Regions from separate parts of the Homo sapiens genome. Here regions 2, 3 and 4 are each linked to region 1. The links are contacts of gene promoters, found by promoter capture Hi-C in human tissues and cell types (Jung and others, 2019). All regions are on one chromosome and are shown on one strand. The core of a region is centred on a gene start or on the middle of the fragment in contact, and the rest is flanking DNA. Distances in the headings are between cores, read along the strand shown.

The links. Contacts are between HindIII fragments. The study calls those that stand out against the background at their distance.
Region 2: a fragment that was not itself captured here is called in contact with the fragment with the promoter of DSCR4 in region 1 in 2 of the 25 tissues and cell types used here (dorsolateral prefrontal cortex and mesenchymal stem cells).
Region 3: a fragment that was not itself captured here is called in contact with the fragment with the promoter of DSCR4 in region 1 in 7 of the 25 tissues and cell types used here (IMR-90 fibroblasts, aorta, dorsolateral prefrontal cortex and 4 more).
Region 4: a fragment that was not itself captured here is called in contact with the fragment with the promoter of DSCR4 in region 1 in 1 of the 25 tissues and cell types used here (lymphoblastoid cells).

The regions. Positions count from the first base shown.
Region 1 is chr21:38,119,120-38,124,032 of GRCh38, forward strand. DSCR4 (Down syndrome critical region 4) reads right to left here and starts at 2,241. Exons shown (of 3, transcript NR_147130.1): 1 at 2,009-2,241; 2 at 1,188-1,289. It overlaps DSCR8 (Down syndrome critical region 8), which reads left to right and starts at 2,332. Exons shown (of 3, transcript NR_026842.1): 1 at 2,332-2,482; 2 at 3,193-3,292. The HindIII fragment of the contact is 7,375 bases long and covers 1-3,824 here.
Region 2 is chr21:37,666,864-37,671,776 of GRCh38, forward strand. The region is part of intron 3 of KCNJ6 (potassium inwardly rectifying channel subfamily J member 6); the gene reads right to left. The region is part of intron 1 of KCNJ6-AS1 (KCNJ6 antisense RNA 1); the gene reads left to right. Among named protein-coding and RNA genes, the nearest start is that of KCNJ6-AS1, 150 kb to the left of the region's middle. RefSeq lists enhancers at 556-1,278, 1,279-2,002. The HindIII fragment of the contact is 4,201 bases long and covers 719-4,913 here.
Region 3 is chr21:37,687,922-37,692,834 of GRCh38, forward strand. The region is part of intron 3 of KCNJ6 (potassium inwardly rectifying channel subfamily J member 6); the gene reads right to left. All of the region lies in intron 1 of KCNJ6-AS1 (KCNJ6 antisense RNA 1), which reads left to right. Among named protein-coding and RNA genes, the nearest start is that of KCNJ6-AS1, 170 kb to the left of the region's middle. The HindIII fragment of the contact is 3,712 bases long and covers 371-4,082 here.
Region 4 is chr21:37,736,559-37,741,471 of GRCh38, forward strand. The region is part of intron 2 of KCNJ6 (potassium inwardly rectifying channel subfamily J member 6); the gene reads right to left. KCNJ6-AS1 (KCNJ6 antisense RNA 1) reads left to right here. Exons shown (of 8, transcript NR_183540.1): 8 at 1,946-4,144. Among named protein-coding and RNA genes, the nearest start is that of KCNJ6, 180 kb to the right of the region's middle. The HindIII fragment of the contact is 4,180 bases long and covers 124-4,303 here.

The DNA of each region.
Region 1 (4,913 bases), core at 991-3,490:
GAGACGGTGTCTCGCTCTGTTGCCCAGGCTGGGGTGCAGTGGCCCGATCTCGGCTCACTGCAAGATCTGCCTCCCGGGTTCACGCCATTCTCCTGCCTCAGCCTCCCCAGTAGCTGGAACTACAGGCACCTGCCACCACTCCCGGCTAATTTTTTGTATTTTTAGTAGAGATGGGATTTCACCGTGTTAGCCAGGATGATCTGGATTTCCTGACCTCGTGATCCGCCCGCCTCGGCCTCCCAAAGTGCTGAGATTACAGGTGTGAGCCACCCTGCCCGGCCAGTAAGCGGAATATTCAATTGGATTCCAGAGTTTATGCTTTTAGCTATCAAGCTATACTCTTTCTCACTATATTTCCCTGAGCTTTGGTTTCCTTATCTATAAAACTGGAACCGCACTGCCTGTTTGCCTTTAGAGCTATAGGTAATAAATGTTATGCATTTATTATGGTAAATAACATGTAGTAGAGCAAAGCATGGAAATTCAGGAAGTAACAAAGAGCAGTCATAAGAATGTCTATGTGGTAAATCTAGATAAAAATTACTTGTATACACATTTACAGTAGCGCCTTTAAAACACACACCGATAGCACTTTAGTAAGTCAAGAATGCATGTTGCACCAATTAGAGAAAACACCAATTTTTTAAAAAAACATATAAATAACAAGCTAATAGAAGAAGAAATGTAATTAGAAAAATTTAAATAAGCCCAAAAACTTTAAGGAAGGACAAAAAAAATCATAGAACAGAGAAAATAGGAATCAATGGTAAGATGGTAGATTTAACCTTGAATTACAGTAAATATAAACAGACTAAATATTGAAATTGAAATATAAAGCTCATCAGAGAAGGTAATAATATCAAGCAAAGCTAAACAAGCTGCTTACTTTAAATATAAAGATATCGACAGGTTGAAAGTAAGTAAGGGATGGTAAAACTACTATGCAAAGCAAAAGTTACAAAACCAAAGCAAAGACTGGCTCGTTTCAGAATAATCAACGTTTCAGGTTTAATATGAAATAATCGTAAATTTGTTTATACCTAATAACATAGCCATAAAATAAAAATTGACAGATAAACAATCATGTTAAGAGCCTGTATAAGCCAGATTTCTCCAGAAAAACAGAATCAAAAGGATATATACATTAAGAATTATATTAAGAAATTTATTTTAGCATATTGGCTTACATGATTGTGGGGCTGGCAAGTCCAGAATCCGTAGGAGAAGCTGGCAGGCTGAAACTCAGGCAGGAAACGATGTTGCAGACTTTAGGCAGAATTTTTTCTTCTCTAGGAAAATTCAGTTTTTGCTCTTAAGGCTTCTGATTGTATAAGGCCCATTCACAGTATGAAAAGTAAGATTTATGTAAAGCCAACTGATTGTAGATGTTAACTACATCTACAAAATACCTTTGCAGCACTACCTAGATTAGTGTTTGATTAAATAAATGGGCAGTAAAGGCCGGGTGCAGTGGCTCACGCCTGTAATCCCAGCACTTTGGGAGGCCGAGGCAGGAAGATCACTTGAGGTCAGGAGTTCAAGACCAGCCTGGCCAACATGGTGAAACCCCATCCGTACTAAAAATACAAAAATTAGCCTGGCTTGGTGGCGGGCACCTGTAATCCCAGCTACTTGGGAGGCTGAAGCAGGAGAATCACTTGAACCCAGGAGGTTGTAGTGAACCGAGATCGCGCCACTGCATTCCAGTCTGGGTGACAAGAGCAAAACTCTGTCTCACCACAAAAAAAAAAAAAAAAAAAAAAAAAAAAAGGCACTAAAGCCTGGCCCCCATGATGACACAGGAAACTAATCGTCATGGAGACTTTATCCACACTTTTGAATATATGTTACATTTCAACATTAAAACACACACACACACACAAAATCATAAAGCAATCAACAAAATTAAGCTGAATGCTTCGTAATTGCTGGATTCCCTGGGAAGCTGACTCTGAGATGGAGATTAGCGTGCAGGACATTTCTTACGGGTTGTTCTTGGGATCAATACCTGTGGAGAGGAGAAGCTGAGGCAGGATCAGGAAGCGGGGAAGTAGAGTGCAATGCTGGTGAAGCGGCATCACTGTCTGGGGTAAATATCCGGGGTTCATCATCTCTCGTCAAGATGATTAACGACATGGACACACATGGGTGAGTTAAGAAGCGGAAAGTTTAATAGGCGGAAGAAAAGAGTGAGGAGACCAGCTCTCAGACATCCTTAAGGGAAAGGCTGGCCCGTGACTGACGGCAGCAGGTTTTACGGGCAGGCTTGAGGAGGCGGTGTCTGATTTACGTGGAGCCCAGAGATTGGTTCGACCAGGGGTGACGTTTACGTAGCGCGCAGGGAAGGCTGGTCACCCCACCCTAATCTTGTTATGCAAATAGGCTTCCCACTTGGCAGGGGCCGTCTTGTCCACTCGTTTCTGTAAACATGGGTGGCAAAAAGAGAAGATGGAGCTGCCATTTAGAACATGCCTAATCCCAGGTAGTGTTTTTTGTTGTTGTTGTTGCTGCTGTTGTCGCTTTTTGAGTCGGAGTTTCGCTCTTGTTGCCCAGGCTGGAGTGCAATGGCGCCATCTTGGCTCACCACAGCCTCCGCCTCCTAAGTTCAGGCGATTCTCCTGCCTCAGCCTCCTGAGTAGCTGGGATTACAGGCGTGAGCCACAGCGCCGGCCCCAGGTAGTATATTTTTATTGGCACAACTGCCGGTATTTGCCTGTGCAAGCTTTCAGCTTGCTTGTCTGTGTCTGCAGCTCGATTTTCCAGGTTGCTTTTTGTTAGAAAAGAAAATGATTTGGGGGCTGCTTTTCATTAAAAGGAAGACCTTACTGAGGACTCCCATACCTTCACTATCTGCCTAAGTACTTTCTTCTTAACTCCTATATCACTGGGTCAGCAGCAACCCCAGTCAAACCTCAAGGGAGACGGGAAGATGGGACGATCTGTCAGAGGTATGCTGAGTTGAGGCAAGAGAGCTGACCTTTATGGATTGCCAATCAGTGACTCATTGGAAGTGGGGCAACCTGGAAGGAAATGTGGCCTTAGGTGAGGCAGCTGTCTTCAGAGGAGGCAATTTCTTTGTATCTGGAGGGGCAATTGTTAGTGTTCCCCTGGACTGAAGGGTGAATTATGGAGAATGGAATAGAACGATTTGTTACTATGATTTGGTTGATGACTTATTTCCTGTTTCCTTAGCTTCATCTTGCTGAGCAAAAATGAAGGAGCCTGGACCCAACTTTGTTACTGTGAGAAAGGGTCTTCATTCATTCAAGATGGCATTTGTTAAGCACCTACTGTGAGTAGATGATCTCCTGTCAAAGACAGTTAACAAATCCTCGGAATATTGCTTCATGTACAGTTATTGGAGATGAGTAACTTACATTCTCTTAATTGTAATGGTTCCTTGGAAAGTCATCGTGGAAAATGAAGGCTGGCTCATACATTTTCCCAGACAGGAATTTGGCTGCCAACAGGGAATTCTAAACAACTAAAAACTCCAGATGATGAATGCACAACATAATGATGGTTAAATTAAAAAAAAAAAAGAGCACGGTAATAAAATTTCCATGAAATATTTTGTGTAAGCGCAGATAATCAGTCATTTTCTTTATAGAATTCTTATTCGTAAATAATTTAGAATACTTTGTTCTTTATAATATATGATGGGCAACTATAGTATGATTCTTCTGAGTGACTCAGTTCTTTTTTTTTTTTCACATTTAATGACTTTGTTTCTCCTAAGTGAATGCACAGATAGTATATTAATCAGGGTTCTCTGGAAAAACCAGAACCAATTTATTATCAGGTACTGGTTCATGTGATTGTGGAGGCTGAGAAGCCCCATGATCTGCTCTCTGCAAGCTGGAGACCCAGGAAAGCTGATGAAAGTCAAAGGCCTAAGAGCTGGAGGGCCGATGGTATAGATTGCAGCCCAGGTCTAAAGGCCTGAGAACCAGAAGCACAGAGGGCAGAAGATCAATATTCCAGCTCAATCAGGCAAAGAGAAAAAGTCCTCCCTTCCTCTCCGTTTTTCTTCTATTCTGACCCTGGATGGACTGGATGAGGCCCAGCCACATTGAGGAGAGCCATCTGCTTTAATCAGTCCACCAACTCAGATCCTGATCTCTTCCAGAAACACCTTCACAGATACACCCAGAAATAACATTCAACCTGTTAGGAGTATCCCATGGCTCAGTCAAGTTGACACACAAAACTAACCATCACAGATACACATCAAAGTTAAATAATATTAACACAGACTTTGGCAAGCTGTATTTTAAAACACAGTAGGTTAGTGAGTCTGGTTTAAGAGCACTAGATGAAACCACATATAAGGATGTTTTTGACATTCTGTGTCTGACCCTTCAGACTCCCTGCCCTCCTCCCCACCATGTTCTGAACCCCAGAACACTGACCTCTACGAACAGCCCCACATGGGCTCTGTTACCCTCTGGCTTCCCATTGGCCCATGGAGGCACAGAGGAAGTTGGGGCAGGAGGACAGAATGGTTGAGGTACGGATGCTCGAGCTCTCAAGGCCACAAGTCGGCAGGGGCTACATTCCTGTGTGAAGCTCACTACCCCTCAGTCGTCTCCTCTAGCTCTCTGTGGGGTCCGGTGACCTCTCTCCTTACAGTCCCATTAGCCCTAGGGGAGGTAATGGCTCTCCAGGGAGTGCTGCCCATGGGTGTCTCAGTATCACTTGTTGGTTCCCATAGCCCCACCCACACCTGTGTAAATAGGCCTTCATTAACCTTAGCTCAGTTGCCTGGTTTGAGTGTACCATCTGTTTCCTGCCAGCACTCTGACTGATAACAGCATTTTTGATATAGGTCTCCATCACATGTATGTACCTTTGTGTCCTCTGTATTCCTCATTGATCAGGGTTATAAATTTTCTCTTCCTGTGACACTAAAT
Region 2 (4,913 bases), core at 1,569-4,068, 450 kb before region 1:
CTCTCTGAAACATGTGCTGTGTCAACTCAGGGTTAAATGGATTAAGGGCGGTGCAAGATGTGCTTTGTTAAACAGATGCTTGAAGGCAGCATACTCGTTAAGAGTCATCACCACTCCCTAATCTCAAGTACCCAGGGACACAAACACTGTGGAAGGCCGCAGGGACCACTGGCTAGGAAAACCGGAGACCTTTGTTCACCTGTTTATCTGCTGACCTTCTCTCCACTATTATCCTATGACCCTGCCACATCCCCCTCTCCGAGAAACACCCAAGAATGAGCAATAAATACTAAAAAAAAAAAAAAAAAAAAAAAAAAAAAATTAAATGAGGCAACGCAGGCAAAGTGTCCAGACCCAAACTGGATATGTAACAAGGGCCGATGAGTGTGAGTTCCTTTTGTTCCCTCTTCATATATCCAGGCCAGGGTTCCACATTTTGAATTGGAGAATTCTCTACTGTGGGGGGCGTTTAGCAACACCTTTCCCTCATCACATAGGACCTCTTGTAACAAGCCCATCCTGTCTGGACCAGGGGGATTCAGCTAAGCCTAGGGTCAGTCCAAATAATTCCAGGACTTGGAATGACTCAATAGGACATCAGGGGTAGTAGGCGCCGGGGTAGCGGGAGCTGGGGTAGAGGACGCTGGGGTAGTGGGCGCCGGGGTAGCGGGGTCCGGGGTAGCGGGCGCCGGGGTAGCAGGCTCCAGGGTAGTGGGTGCTGGGGTAGCAGGAGCCAGGGTAGCGGGGTCTGGGGTAGCAGGCACCGGGGTAGCAGGTCCAGGGTAGCAGGCGCCGGGTAGCAGGTCCGGGGTAGCGGGCTCCGGGGTCGGCACTGCAGGGTGTTTAGCAGCATTCTCTGCCTCTGATCACAGGGTGCCAGTAGCAGAGTCCTCTCACCCCATTGTGACATCCAAAATGCCTCCATATATTGCCCTCTGTCTCCCGGGGGACAAAACTTGCCCTTGACTGAGAACCACTGTCCTAGGTCCATCTCGTGCAGTTGGGCCAGAGCCTACCTCGACTCTGGGCACAGAGAAGCAAGTGCCACTCCTGGAGTGGTGTCCTCCTCCAGGAGGCATGCCAGAGCTCCTTGGAGCTTCTTAAAAGCGCAGGGGCCTGGGCTTTACTCCACAATTCTGATGTCATTGGATGCAGTGGACATTTGCTGAAAGCTCACGCCATGGTCTGATCAGTGGGCGCAGCTGAGAACCACTGGTGCCTGGCTCCCTTGGGGACGGAGCCCACAGCCCCAGGGCCTCAGCTCGGGTGTGTGGGGCAGTTCTGTGCATGCTGAAAGCATACCCCCTCCAGTGCTTGATGGGGGCTTCTCTGGTCTTCTGCCTCAGAGCCCTCTCCAAAACCCATAGAGGCCTTCAGACCCATGTTCAGCCCCACGTGAGGAGTTGGAGGAGTGCTAGTGCCCCAGGGGTAATGGGAGCCTGTAGGAGCTCCCCAGAACTGCCTCAAGGGAAACCACAGATGGCGCCTTAAATAACACAGTTCTCTCTCCTTGGCTTACAGATGCCCTCTCCTCCCTGGGTCCTCACAGGGTCACCCCTCTGTGTGTGTCTGTGTCTGTGTCCTAATCTCCTATTCTTATAAGGACACCAGTTAGGTTGGATGAGGGCCCACCCTAATGGCCTCGTTTACCTTAATCACTTCTTTAAAGGCCCTACCTCCAAATACAGCCACATGCTGAGGTATGGGGGGTTAGGACTTCAACATAGGCAGATTGGGAGATACACCTCGGCCCACAGCAGCATCCGGAGGCCTGTGTCTTCCTGTCTGAGCCTGGGTGTGGATGCCGCACCCGTGCTGGTTGGAGGAAGCTGGCCTGCACGGCCTCTGAGCTTCTCCACTTTCTTACTCATCTGAACTTTGGGGCACTCCAATTCTGCTGAGGAAGGAGAAGGATCCTTTTTGCAAATTATATACTGACTCTAGTATAACATCACATGACAGGTAAAGGAGGATATCAAAATATTTTATCCCAAAATAGGTTTCTTTGCTATACTTTGAAATGGTGCTGCAAAGCTGGCTTTCGTGATGCAAAATTTGCATCTGTAAGGAATCTCTAATAATATAACTAGGTATTTCCCCTTCCAGGCCCTCCCAATCCAGAAGAGATTAGCACCTTTAAAAGATCTAAATAGGAAACATTGCCATCTATTGTCTCAAAGGGCAGCTACCTATGAGACTTCATCTACATAACAAGAACCCTGGTCTCCACAACCCCTTATCTTAACCCAAACACTCCTTTCTATTGATTCTAGGTCTTTAGATAATAACTTAACTCTTCAACCAATTGCCAATCAGAAAATCTTTGAATCCACCTATGACCTGTAAGGCACCCCCCCACCTTCCAGTTGTCCTGCCTTTCCAGAACTAAACAATTTATACCTCACATGTATTGATTGAGGTCTTATGTCTCCCTAAAACGTATATGACCAAGCCGTAACCCAGTCACCTTGGGCACATGTTCTCCGGACTTCTTGAGACTGTGCTTTGGGCCCTGGTCATTCATATTTGGCTCAGAATAAACCTCTTTAAGTAGTTTACAGAGTTTGCCTTTTTTTGCTGACATACTACAAATTCAAAGCTCAATGAAAACAAAACAGGGAAGCCTCAAAGAAATCTCTGCTTGATGCCAATCAGTTCTTTGTATCTTTAGGGAGATGGTAGGTGGTGTTGGGGAGCATGAAGTCTGTGTGTGTTGTGTGTGTGTGTGTGTGTGTGTGTGAATGTGCATATGCATCTCTGCTATAATGCAGGGATAAAAACAACAATGCTTTGGACATTTTCATGATGCTGAATCTACTGTTTGGAGCTTACAATAAGGAAATATGCAGAGACTCTGAAATGTCTTCACAGAATTGTAGCTGGAATAACATGGTTAAGATGGATATTCAAAATATTTGAAAATAATTTGAAAATATTTTCTCCCATTCTGTATGTTGTCTTTCACTTTCATGATAATGTATTTCAATGCATACAAGTTTTTTATTTTGATGAAGTTATATTTATATTTTTCTTTTGTTGCCTGTACTTGTGGTGTCACAGCTAAGAATCCATTGATGAATCCGAAGTCATGAAGATTTACCCCTGTGTTTTCTTCTAAAGAGTCTTACAGCTTTTGCTCCTCTATTTAGGTCTTGATGCATTTTGAGTTTATTTTTGCAAATGTATGAGGTAGAGTTTCAACTAATTCTTTTGCATGTATATATCTAGTTGTCCCAGCACCATTTGTTGAAAAGAGGATTCTTTCCCATTAAATGATCTTAGTGTCCTCATGAAAGTCAATTATTCTAAGGTGTGCAGGTTTATTTCTGGACTCTAAATTCTATTCCACTGGTTTAGATGTCCATCCTTATGCCTTATATTCAGTCACTGCTTTAATTACTATAGTTTTATAGTAAGTTTTGAAATGAGGAAGTGTGAATCTTCTAATTTTGTTCTTTTTCAGCATTGTTTTGGCCATTTGGGGACCCTTGCATTTCCATATGAACTTGAGGATTGGGCTTTTTAGTTCTGCAAAATGGCCATTGGAATTTTGGCAGGGATAACATTAAATCTGCAGATCACTTTGGGTAGTACTGCCATCTTAATAATATTAAGCCTGGGCTGAGTGCAGTGGCTCACACCTGTAATCTCAGCACTTTGGGAGGCTGAGGTGTGCAGATAACTTGAGCTCAGGAGTTTGAAACCAGCCGGGGCAACGTGGTGAAACCATGTCTCTCCTAAAAATACAAAAGTTAGCTGGGCATGGTGGTGCATGCTTGTAGTCCCAGCTACTTGGAGGGCTGAGGTGGGAGAATTACTTGAGCCTGGGAGGCAGAGGCTGCAGTCACCCAAGATCGTGCCACTGCACTCCAGCCTGGGTGACAGAATAAGACCCTGTCTCAAAAAGACAAAACAAAACAAAGCAAAAATAATATTAAGCCCTCCAACCTATAAGCACAGGATGTTATTCCATTTATTTAGATATTCTTTCATTTCTTTCAGCAGGACCTTATGATTTTCAGTATATGAGTTTTCACTTCCTTGGTTTGAACTTAGGTATTTTATTTCATTTTTTGGATGCTATTGTCAATGGGCCTGTTTTCTTAATTTCCTTTTTGAATTGTCCATTGCTAGTGTATTGTGATATTGTGAAATATATATTTGGCCTTTATCCCATTTCCTGATACATAGCTCCTAAAACCACTAGAATCTCTGGAGTGTTAAGAATGTCTTTTGTTTGCTACTGAGATGACTGGCAGCTGCAGACCTCTAGATAGCTTCCGGGTGGGGGCTGGCCACCTGAAAGACCATGGCATGATTAGAAGGTTGAGACTTTCGGTCCCACCCCCAACCTCCAGGGAAGGGAAGGGGGTTGAAGGTTCAGTTGATCACCAATGGCCAATGATATCATTACTCATGCCTACATAATGAAGCTTCCATAGAAAAGCAAAAGGACTGAGTTCTGGGGGCTTCTGGAAAGCTGAACACATGGATGTTCCTGGAAGGGGTTAACCCAGGGAGGGCGTGCCCCTCTTCTTGCCTCTTCTCCCACACTTTGCCCTGTACCCTTCTTCCTTCTGGCTGCTCATCTGTACCCTTAATTATATCCTTTATAATAAATGGGTAGGTGTAAGTAGAGTGGTTCCCTGAGTTCTGTGAACTGCTTTCGCAAATTAATTGAATCCCAGGATGGGGTTGCGGGAACTCCCAATTTACAGCCAGTTGGTCAGAAGCACAGGCCACAACCTGTGCTTGCGACTGGCATCTGCCGGGGTGGGGCAGGCTTGTGGGGCTGAGCCCTCACCCTGTGGGATCTGACACTGCCTGCAGGTAGACAGTGTCAGAGCTGAACTGAATTAGGGAACACACAGGGGTGTCCACTGGAGAATGACCTGCAGCACTGGTTGTTGTTG
Region 3 (4,913 bases), core at 977-3,476, 430 kb before region 1:
TGGAATGGTTTCTTTGTTCTACCAATAGCATATTCAATAACTGTGGATGATTTAAAGTGTTTTTGTTCACTGAGTCCTACCATCTGAGATGGAAGGTGTCCTTCTTATCTGACCTGTTTTAGGCATAAAACACATGAATGAGAAATAGAGAACTCTCTATTTCTATAGCTGATTTTTAAAGAGCTTGGCAGACAGGTGTTTCTTCTTCTTTATTTTTCTCTTATAAGGATAATTTTAGAGCAAAACTGTTCTAACATATTTGAATTATATGTGATGGGATTCCCAGCTCATCTCATTCAAATTCAACCTAAAAAAGAAGCATTACCTGCTAATTCCTTATTAGTAAGCACTTTTTCTAACTTGACATTTTTAGATGTTTGAACCATCTGTCATTTTACAGGCAAATGGAACCTCTTGAGTACTAGAGATACACCCGTATTTTAAAAGCATTTTTTTTTTAAAAAATCTACTACATTCTAGATTCTATGCTATGTTTTTTTTTATCATCTAATTTAATAATCATTGAAACCTAGCCAGGCAGGAATCTCATCAGATAAAGAATATGAGGTCCAGGGAAATCAGATCAGTCAGTCAAGGACACAGCTAATGAGCAGGAGGGACAGGGCATGAGTGAAAGGGCTCTGGACACAAGTCCAGGGCTTTTCCTAGTGAGCCTAACCTTCGTTTTTCAGCTTAATGGGATGTGTGACACAACCCACTGTTGGCCAGGCTTATTCTGTGATATCGGACTCAATGACCCAAGGGGTGGGGGAGAGGGGTGCAGATGCCAGATAAGGCACCAGAGATTATTCACTTATGAGACATGTCTTCCATGATGGTTGGTTGGAACCCAGACTTAGGTGCCTAGTAAGTATTAATATTTTTCTCTTAGTTGTACTATTTTGAAAAACTTACTAGACACAAGGACATGATGAAAGTGTTGGCTGAAGTATCACATCCAAAGAGGGGATGATGGCAGTCAAATGGAACAGGTTTGAATATGTTTCATGAATATAATTCTATTGTAGTAGAGATACATTTAGATATATGTATTGTAGATATACACCAAAGGTGCATATATCATTGGTGATATAAATCACCATATATCGTTGGTGATAAATCAAAGGTGATATAAATCAATGGATATCTGAATGATGTATGTATATGTATAATATATCTCTATTCTCTCTGTTCCTCTATCTATTGAAGTGCAGGAGGAAATGAGAAGTCCCATTACAGGAAAGCTTGCAGAGTCTACAGCTTTTCAAAAGCAGTCACTTTCTGGTGGACAGAGCCCTAGTAATGAAGAAAATGGTGCTCTCCACCCTCCACCATACTTAGTGAGATGAAATTTTGACTAATTGCTCTGCAATCACTTCAAAATCCATACATACTAAAAAGTCTGATGGAATGGATAAAGAAGTGTCACTTGGAAGCAAATTCATAAGCAAAGTATATTTTCTTTTTCTTCTTACTTCCCCCTTTCAGTGGTTTCCATCTTGTTTTCCTCTGACCTTTTAAGGGGCTCACTGTTCTCATCCTGTCTCTTTGTTATCAGAGCCTCCCAATAGAGGAGAGTTACAGTTCAGGTCGAACATTCACGGCATGACTTATCTGTCCATCTATCTAACCACAGTCCTCATTCTTAATACATACTAGGCACTCAGTAAATTTCTATCTTCTCTCTCTTCCTTCCTCTCTCCATTCATTCCTGCCAAGAATTAACAATCTATTGGTGAGAAGAAACCAATTACCACTGAGTATCAGACAAATGACATGTCATGCCGGGCTATGTTTATGTTGAAACTCATGGCCCACCGTGAAAGAAAAGGGTTAGTCTCTTAACACATGAAGTATTGGGAGATGAGTGCAAGGGACGTGGTGGGCTGGGACTTTCACCCACACCATTGCTTCCTATCAGGGAAGCAGTAGTGTCTCCCTGTCAACTAGATGGCTTGGGTCTCAGGCAGAGTCAAAAGTTGGGTCTCACATGGCCAAGACACCAACTCACAGATTCTCCATTAATGACCCCCACTCCTGCATTCGTAGGGAATTTAATTTTAGATAAATTATTTCAAAAAATAGAAATACTCTTATCCCTCTGCAATAAACTACAGATTATCCTTATAAAAATCCTTTCTTTCTCAGTATAAGATTATGCAATTAAAATTGTTTGATTGAAATTGTTTGATTGACATATGATATAATTATTTCAAAATATCTATATATTTGATAAATTACCAGTGACTATGCTTCTTCATGTCATCATTATGAACTACTCAATGTTCAAAGGTTTATCATTTTCCATGTAATTATTTTTACATTCAAGGCTTTCTACTCTATAGCATGAACCTGACAATAACGATTCCTCCTTGAATCTGTATTGAAGTTTATAAAGCTTCAAGGACTTGTCAATGATACATAAAAAGTTAATTAAAATCATTCAAGGACTGCCTACCATAAGACTTGCAATAAACTGTCTGTTTGCATTGAAATGATGGGGTGCTCTGTGGGGTAGATTTTCACCTCCAGCCAATGTCTACTGTGGAGCTGCATGCTTGCATTTGTAATGGGCATTGCTGGGATAAAAGGTCTCAGCTGTGACAGTCTTAGGAAACCTCAGGATTTTTCAATTTTCCAAAGGCCTAAGAGTATTTTCTTGAAATTTCGGCATGGTGCCACAGCTACCAACCATGACACCTGGCTCAGTGAATATCTATGGCCACAGCCAGGGCACAAATGTGAATTTTAAAAATTCCACAAAGCCCCTCCTTTTCCAAACAGAAATTGGACATAAATATTCGTACATCAAAGTAACATATTAATGGGTGATACTTCAGGTTACTTCTTTTTTCTTTTCTTTTTTTTTTTTTTTTGAGATAGAGTCTTGCTCTGTTGCCCAGGCTGGAGTGCAGTGGCGTGATCTTGGCTCACTGCAACCTCTGCTTCCTACCGGGATCAAGCAATTCTCTTCCTCAGTCTCCTGAGTAGCTGGGATTGCAGGCATCTGCCACCATACCCGGCTAAGTTTGGTATTTTTAGAAGAGACCAAGGTTTCACCATCTTGGCCAGGCTGGTCTTGAACTCCCAACCTCGTGATCCACCTGCCTCAGCCTCCTAAAGTGCTGGGATTACAGGCATGAGCCACCGTACCTGGCCCAGGTTACTTTTTCAATTCCAAGCTAAGCAAGCTTAGGTCACACCTTTGAGGAATAAGGACAGAGACAGATAATTGAATTGTGTGGGGCTGAGAGTGCAGGGTTTCCAACCCCTGAAGCCACTGCAAGGGCAGATGGCCAGGTATGGCTAGGACAACAATTTCCTGGCACCCCTAGGCTCAGGTGTAGGGGGGCCTCTGTCAGGACCTCTAAGGATTCCCACAGGGTCTTCATTTACTAGACTGGAAGTGAGAGACATCTCCCTCCCCTCCCTTATTGGGGGCTGTGATGCTCCCAAATCTTAACTTTCTGATGATTTATCTTCAATGAGGGTGAAGTGCTGGGCATTTTGACACCCTCCCAGCCTGCTTGGCACAGCCTGCTCAGAGCTCTGGCAGCTCTTGTTGGAAGGTGGGAACTATTGACACCTATTGAATGGGAGCATCAGCTGAGACCGACTTCTAAGGAGTTCCTCTGAGGTGTCCCGTATCTTCCTGATTCACAGTTTGGCTTCTGGCTAGAATGGTTTCCAGGAACATCTTCAGCCACTGCTCAGTGATTACGGTCTCTGTTCTAGCTTTGCTCAGTTTTTGGCAAATCCAAAATCTGATTTTGGATATGACAGTGGGATATAGTGAGACATGGTTGGAGGCCACTCGGCAGGGGTGGAATCTGTGTGAGTAACCGCGCACCTGTGCTCACAGGAAAGCACAGCCGTTAGAACTCCTTAGACCCTGCAGGCAGGCCCCGCTAAGTTAAATAGTGACAGGGACATGAACATATTCATTCAATGTGCTTTTGCTATGATCCACCACTCTGGATCAAACATATTTTTTGAGACGTTTTGCTGTATAATTAAAAAAAAGGTTTCTCTAACCTCAGCTGATGGCCCATTTATTTCAAGCAGTTTGGGATGTCGTGGCATTCCAGCACTTAGTCATTTGGGGTTTGAGGCAGTGGAATTTGATATGTGTGTCCATTTCCATGGATTGCATTAGGACAAATACTTAATGCATGCGGGGCTTAAAACCTAGATGACAGGTTGATGGGCGCAACAAACCACCATGGCACATGTATACCTATGTAACAAAGCTGCATGTTCTGCACAAGTATCCCAGAACTTAAAGTAAAAACAAAAACCAAAAAATCCCAAAAAACAAAAAACGTAGAGTGGCAGACAAATTCCCATTTAATATTTGTGTTTCAACTGCCTCTCCCTTTACCCTTGAGAAAAAAAGGCAATGCATTTTTTTTTTCCTTCAGAATAATTTCCAAGGAGCAGCATTAGGGGTGTGAATGGTACTTAAAGTGTGTGGATTTAAAGTAGACAGAAGAATCAATATATTCTCCTCAGCAGTGCCAGTCCCAGCTCCCACACTGATCTGCTGTAAGGATGTTGCCTCTATCCCAAGCCCCATTTTAGTGCAACAATTTGGAAACTGACGGGAATGTGGGGGGCCAATAGGAACCGTGTCTTGATTAGACATGTGCTGGCCTGAGAGACAACATTCTCTTCTGCCAGGATGTTGGGGCCCAATGGTTGGGGCCTTCCTGCTCTCTGAAATAGAGTTTAGGTTCTGGCTTTGGAGTGAATCAGGAAAATGGCAGAACCCTTCAAATTCACTTTCAAAGAGACATAGAATATTGACAATGTGACATTCTCTAACAAACAAAATGTTTCCATTGATAACCACAAATTACTCAGCGATCTGCCAAGGAACCATTGATTTAGCCCAAATTTCTAAGGCCACTCCC
Region 4 (4,913 bases), core at 964-3,463, 380 kb before region 1:
GTCATGTGTCTTCATCTGCCTAAGCCTGAGAACCAGGGGTGTGCAGGGTAGACATCTGAGAGATAAAGCATGGTGGCATGTCCATCCAGGGCCAGTGTCCCGATGGGGAGATGGAGAGAGGGAGGCACAATGCAGGGGACTCCTCCATGAGCCTGGGCAGCCTACATCCCAGCCCTGTTAAGGTACTGTTCACCTCTGCAGCCTGCAGCGCTGACAACCATGCTTGAGGCCAGGTTGGAACATCTGGCAAGCCATTAATACCTGGTGACTGTGATGAATGCCTATGAGCTCCAACTGACTTCAGCATTTCACGGTCACCCTCCTGGAGGCACCGTCCTTAATAATACTTTTATGCAACTTAGACACGAGTTGCTGCGCTGGGCTGTTGCAGTTGACTGGGGGACAATGTGATTTTTCTCCTGACATGAGTTTCCTAACAAATTACGTTGGGGGCACGATGCTTTTCCTTTTGTGAGATTGGACTTTCTCTTTTATTGTGTGATGTTCTTTTCCTGTGTTGTACTGATATGTTACGGGGGGATCTGCAGAGCTTCTTTACACAGCACAGCTTGTTTTTTCTCTGAGGTCCTCACTGTGCATCAGTGCCCGATGGCAAGAGAAGACCTGTTTCATATTGCCTCTCTCTGGGTATATGTGCTACAGGAGTACGTCTCATTAGGGGTCAGAGTGGCCAGAAGTAAACTGGATTTGTGCTTATCAGTCATTTATTCCTTGAGGTGATTCCTACTTTAACCTGAACTACTTGGTGGATTTTCATCAGACAGTGGAAATATTTGCATTTTCCTTTTTCTCTCAGCTTGGGTGGCAGTGTTTCTCTTGCAAAATTAGCTGCATTTGTAAAGTGAAGCAGAACGAAAGTCAAGAGGGCGATTTCTCTGTTGGCGTTTGTTTGTTTATTTTTCCAGGATCATCTTGCTAAAAGGAAAAGTTTTCCTAGCAATAACCTTGCGATATCTTTAGGCAGCTCTGATCATAATTGATCTGCAGTCAAGTCTTCCATCCTGGAAGGAAAATATCCGGAAAGAGGACTTGATTCCCTTCTGCCCAGTCATAGTCTATTTAGGGTGAGGCCTGAGTGGTGTCTGGGGACAGGGTTTCTGGGGACAGAGTCTGAGTCACAAAGTCTCCCTGCTGATTCTCTGCTCACCAAGCCATGTACTCTGGTTTGGGACAGTTGCTGCACAGAAGGGGGCAGATTCCTGCCCGATGATCTTGTATAACCCTGCAGTGGCCCCGTCTAGGAACCCAAAGACATTCTGGTTCTATGTTTGTAGAGTATATTTTAAGGCCACAGTGAATGAACTTGGAAGGAGATAGAAGGATTTGCCATTGAGATGCCTTTTTGGTAGACAGCATGAAAACTCTGGGCTTCTCCCTGGGGTCAAACCATGCTCTGCACCTGGCCAGCTCTCCAGGAAGCCAAGGTGGAATGATGGGTTTCAGGACAGTGGTTTCTCATACTTTCCAGGGCTGTATTTGTTTAATGCTCACACTCTTTTTTAACAGTGAGATTTTGAGCACTTTTGAGTCTCGGCTCACACAGACAGCCAGCATGGGCCATGGAGACAGGCAGCCCTGGGGGCCAACTATGGTTCCCCATTTGGTGTTCTGTGTCTCCTGGGGATGACTTATTAATAGCTCATAGATTACAAACGGCCTGTACTTCCCTGCCCTGTGGCTTGTCTACTGCAATGCTGTTTGGGTTTCATGCACTTGGGATATAGTCCTTTTAAAATTACATTTTCTCCTGCTTCCATGCTTCTCCCCCCTGGGGCCCATTGGCAAAGCCTGTGTGCTTTGCTGTGCCTCCCCTGAATTATTCTTGCCTTCTCCAGCAAAGGTTTATTTGATTTCTTTAAAGTTACTTGACTGAATTCTCAACGCAAGTACATACACTAAAGTAATCACATCTGCTCTTTTTTAGGGAAAAGTAGAAATCTGCACTCTTGTCTCGACTTTGCCTTGCCTGCAGAACTCAACATTTGCGAATGATGTGTCCTTGAGAAGTCATGTTTTACCCAGTTTTGCAAACTTTTGGCTCATATCATAAATTCAAAGATGCTGGTGCTCCCAGTCTTAGTGCTAACATTTCTATTTATACCCCTTTCCCTGAGCCCCAAGAAATGTTCTTTAAACATATTCTCAGCTGGACCAGAAGAGATTTGGTTTGTGTGTTTGTTTTTAATGGGCCCTGCATTGACTTGGATAATGCTGTTGAAAACACAGTAAGATGGATTAAGTGCTGGATAATTCTCCTTCTAGCACCAATACTCCCTAATAACTTTTTGATACATACAAACAAAAACATCCTCTTTAATCTGCAAATTCCTCTTTGGATGGGCTGAAGGGTAAGGTTATCTGGAAAAAATGAGTAACTTCGGCAGAGAGAATCCTGTGTCAGTCACCAGAGGAGAAGAGAGAAAGCTGCTTGTCTCTTGCAGACCTGTGCTGGCCAATACAGCAGCTACCAGCCTGAAATTTGCCTGGTCTGAATAGAGATGTGCAGTAAGTGTTAAACACACAGGGGATTTTTGAAGAGTAATAATGTAAAAGTAAACTATCCCATTAATAATTGTCATACCAATTACATGTTGAGCTTTTAATATCTGGATATAGTGGGTGAAATAAAATATATCATTATTTTAATTTCACCTATTTCTTTTTTCCTTTCAAAGGTTCATATTATAGAATTTAAGATTATGCAGGTGGCTGGCATTATATTTCCACTGGGCAGGGCTGTTACAGAACATCCAGTACTGAGGAACGCCAGCTCTTAGCATGTTGGGAATAAAATTGATGCAAAAGGCAGTCCCTTGGTTGGCTTAAGTCAGAAGAAAAGGGCTGCTTATTAGGGGGGTTTAACCTTTTGATGTGGAAGGAGCTGAGGGCTCTGTAATTGGGAAAAAATTAATAAGAGTTCATAATGTGATATAATAAGGGGTATTGAACACAACTAATCAAAAAATGGTTGGGGAATTGCTGATAAACGTGTGTAAATATGTTCCCTCCTAGTTTGGGAGCTGTGGCTACTTTAGCCCGCTGGTTCAATTGTTTTTCATTTTTTTGAGTGCTATGCAAGCTCGTGTCAGCTTTCTGCACACCACTAATAACCCAATTTGTGCCTGATTGGAGAAGCTTGACATTGACAGTATCTTATGTTGATGCCATGCATGATGGGGTGAGGAGGGAGAGAGGGAGAAAAGCTCCTGGAAAAACGGGCATTTACAAATGGGAAAAGTGAACTGGGAGAGGGCAGTGTACCATTGGCTTGGGTAAATATTCATTTTATTTATTTATTTAAAAATTTTGGTTCATGAACAATTCTTTAGGTTTGAAAAAAAAAAAGATCAGGTGTTGTTATCCAGGGCTGAAGAAATGAATCATGGTCCCAGCTTTGAAGCACCTGTGGCAACATTGCCAGTCTCCCTGTTCTTTCCTGCTAAGCCCATGACTCCAGTGTGGCTTGTGGAGGAAGCTCACTGGGACTATTTTAAAACGTGTGCCCAAGGAAGTGCAAATGCTGTGCCCAGCACTACTACAAACCAGTAGCTCTTGTAAACCAAAAACAAAATTTGAACGCCCCCCAACCATCTGAGTGGACTTCTTCCTTGGCCAGGGCTCTCCTAAAATTTAACCTGAGAGACTGGTTCAGGCCATTATGGTAAGTGGGGATTGGACACGCCTTATTATACCTCTCTGGCATTAACATCAACACAGACCCGAAGTCTGATAAGAATCGGTTACAATCTACTCTCTCTGAAGCCTGCAACCTGGAGGCTTCAGCTGCATGATAAAACTTTGGTCTCCACATCTCTTATCGCAACCTAGACATTACCTTTCTATTGATCCCAGGTCTTTAGATAAACTCAACCCATTGTCGACTAGAAAACATTCTAAATCTACCTATAAACTGGAACTAACAACCCCCCTCCTTTGAGTTGTCCCGCCTTTCTGGACTGAACCAATGTATTTCTGAAATGTATTTGATTGAAGTCTCATGTCTCCCTAAAATGTATCAAACCAAGCTGCACCCTGACCACCTTGGGCACATACATGTTCTCAGGACCTCCTGAGGGCTGTGTCACTCATATTTGGCTCAGAATAAATCTCTTCAAATATTTTACAGAGTTTGACTCTTTTCATTGACATTCTTCTGCCATTCCCCTGTTCCTGGAGGCTCAAGGACCATAAACTTGAATAGCATGATTTGGCTTTGGTTTGAGCCTATGCCTTTAGGTTTAGATCTTTGCCTAATTGACTAGTAGACTTTGCTGCTAAAAAGCATGACTGCAAATCTGATAAACACTCCAGCTTTTGCCTTTAGATCTCTGACCAATTCTCCTTCTCAGTGACTTTTCCTGACTTCCTCTTCTGTCTGTCCCCTTGAATGTTGGGGGTACCCCATGGTTTGTCTTCAGCCTCTTTTTCTTCTCATCCCTCACTGTTTCTTGGGGAAAGGTCTCCTGTGGATGAAGCGCTCCCTATATGTAGATGACTTCCTCATCTAGCTCTCCAGGTCAGATCTTTCTTTCCCTCAATTTCTTTGCTGTCATATTGACTTGCTTGCAAGATATTTCCACATGGATTTCCTGTAAGAACCTCAAAATAAACATTTTTTCAAGACAGAGATTGTTATCCCCATGCTGTCTGGACTAGATATTCTCCATCTGTCCCTGAAGAGTCCCCCCACACCCTCTGGACTCTCTCTGCAGCCCAGGAGAATGACCTTTCTGGATGTACCTGGTCTCTCATGTCCTCTGGCTTCCTGTTGGGCTTGGCTCATGAGAGGTTCTGGTGGGAGATCAAAGAGTAGGAGGAGAATGGAACCTTTCTATTAAGATGGGTTGAGTTGAAATGGGCTGTGTTCCTCTTCCTACAACCATAGTCCCACT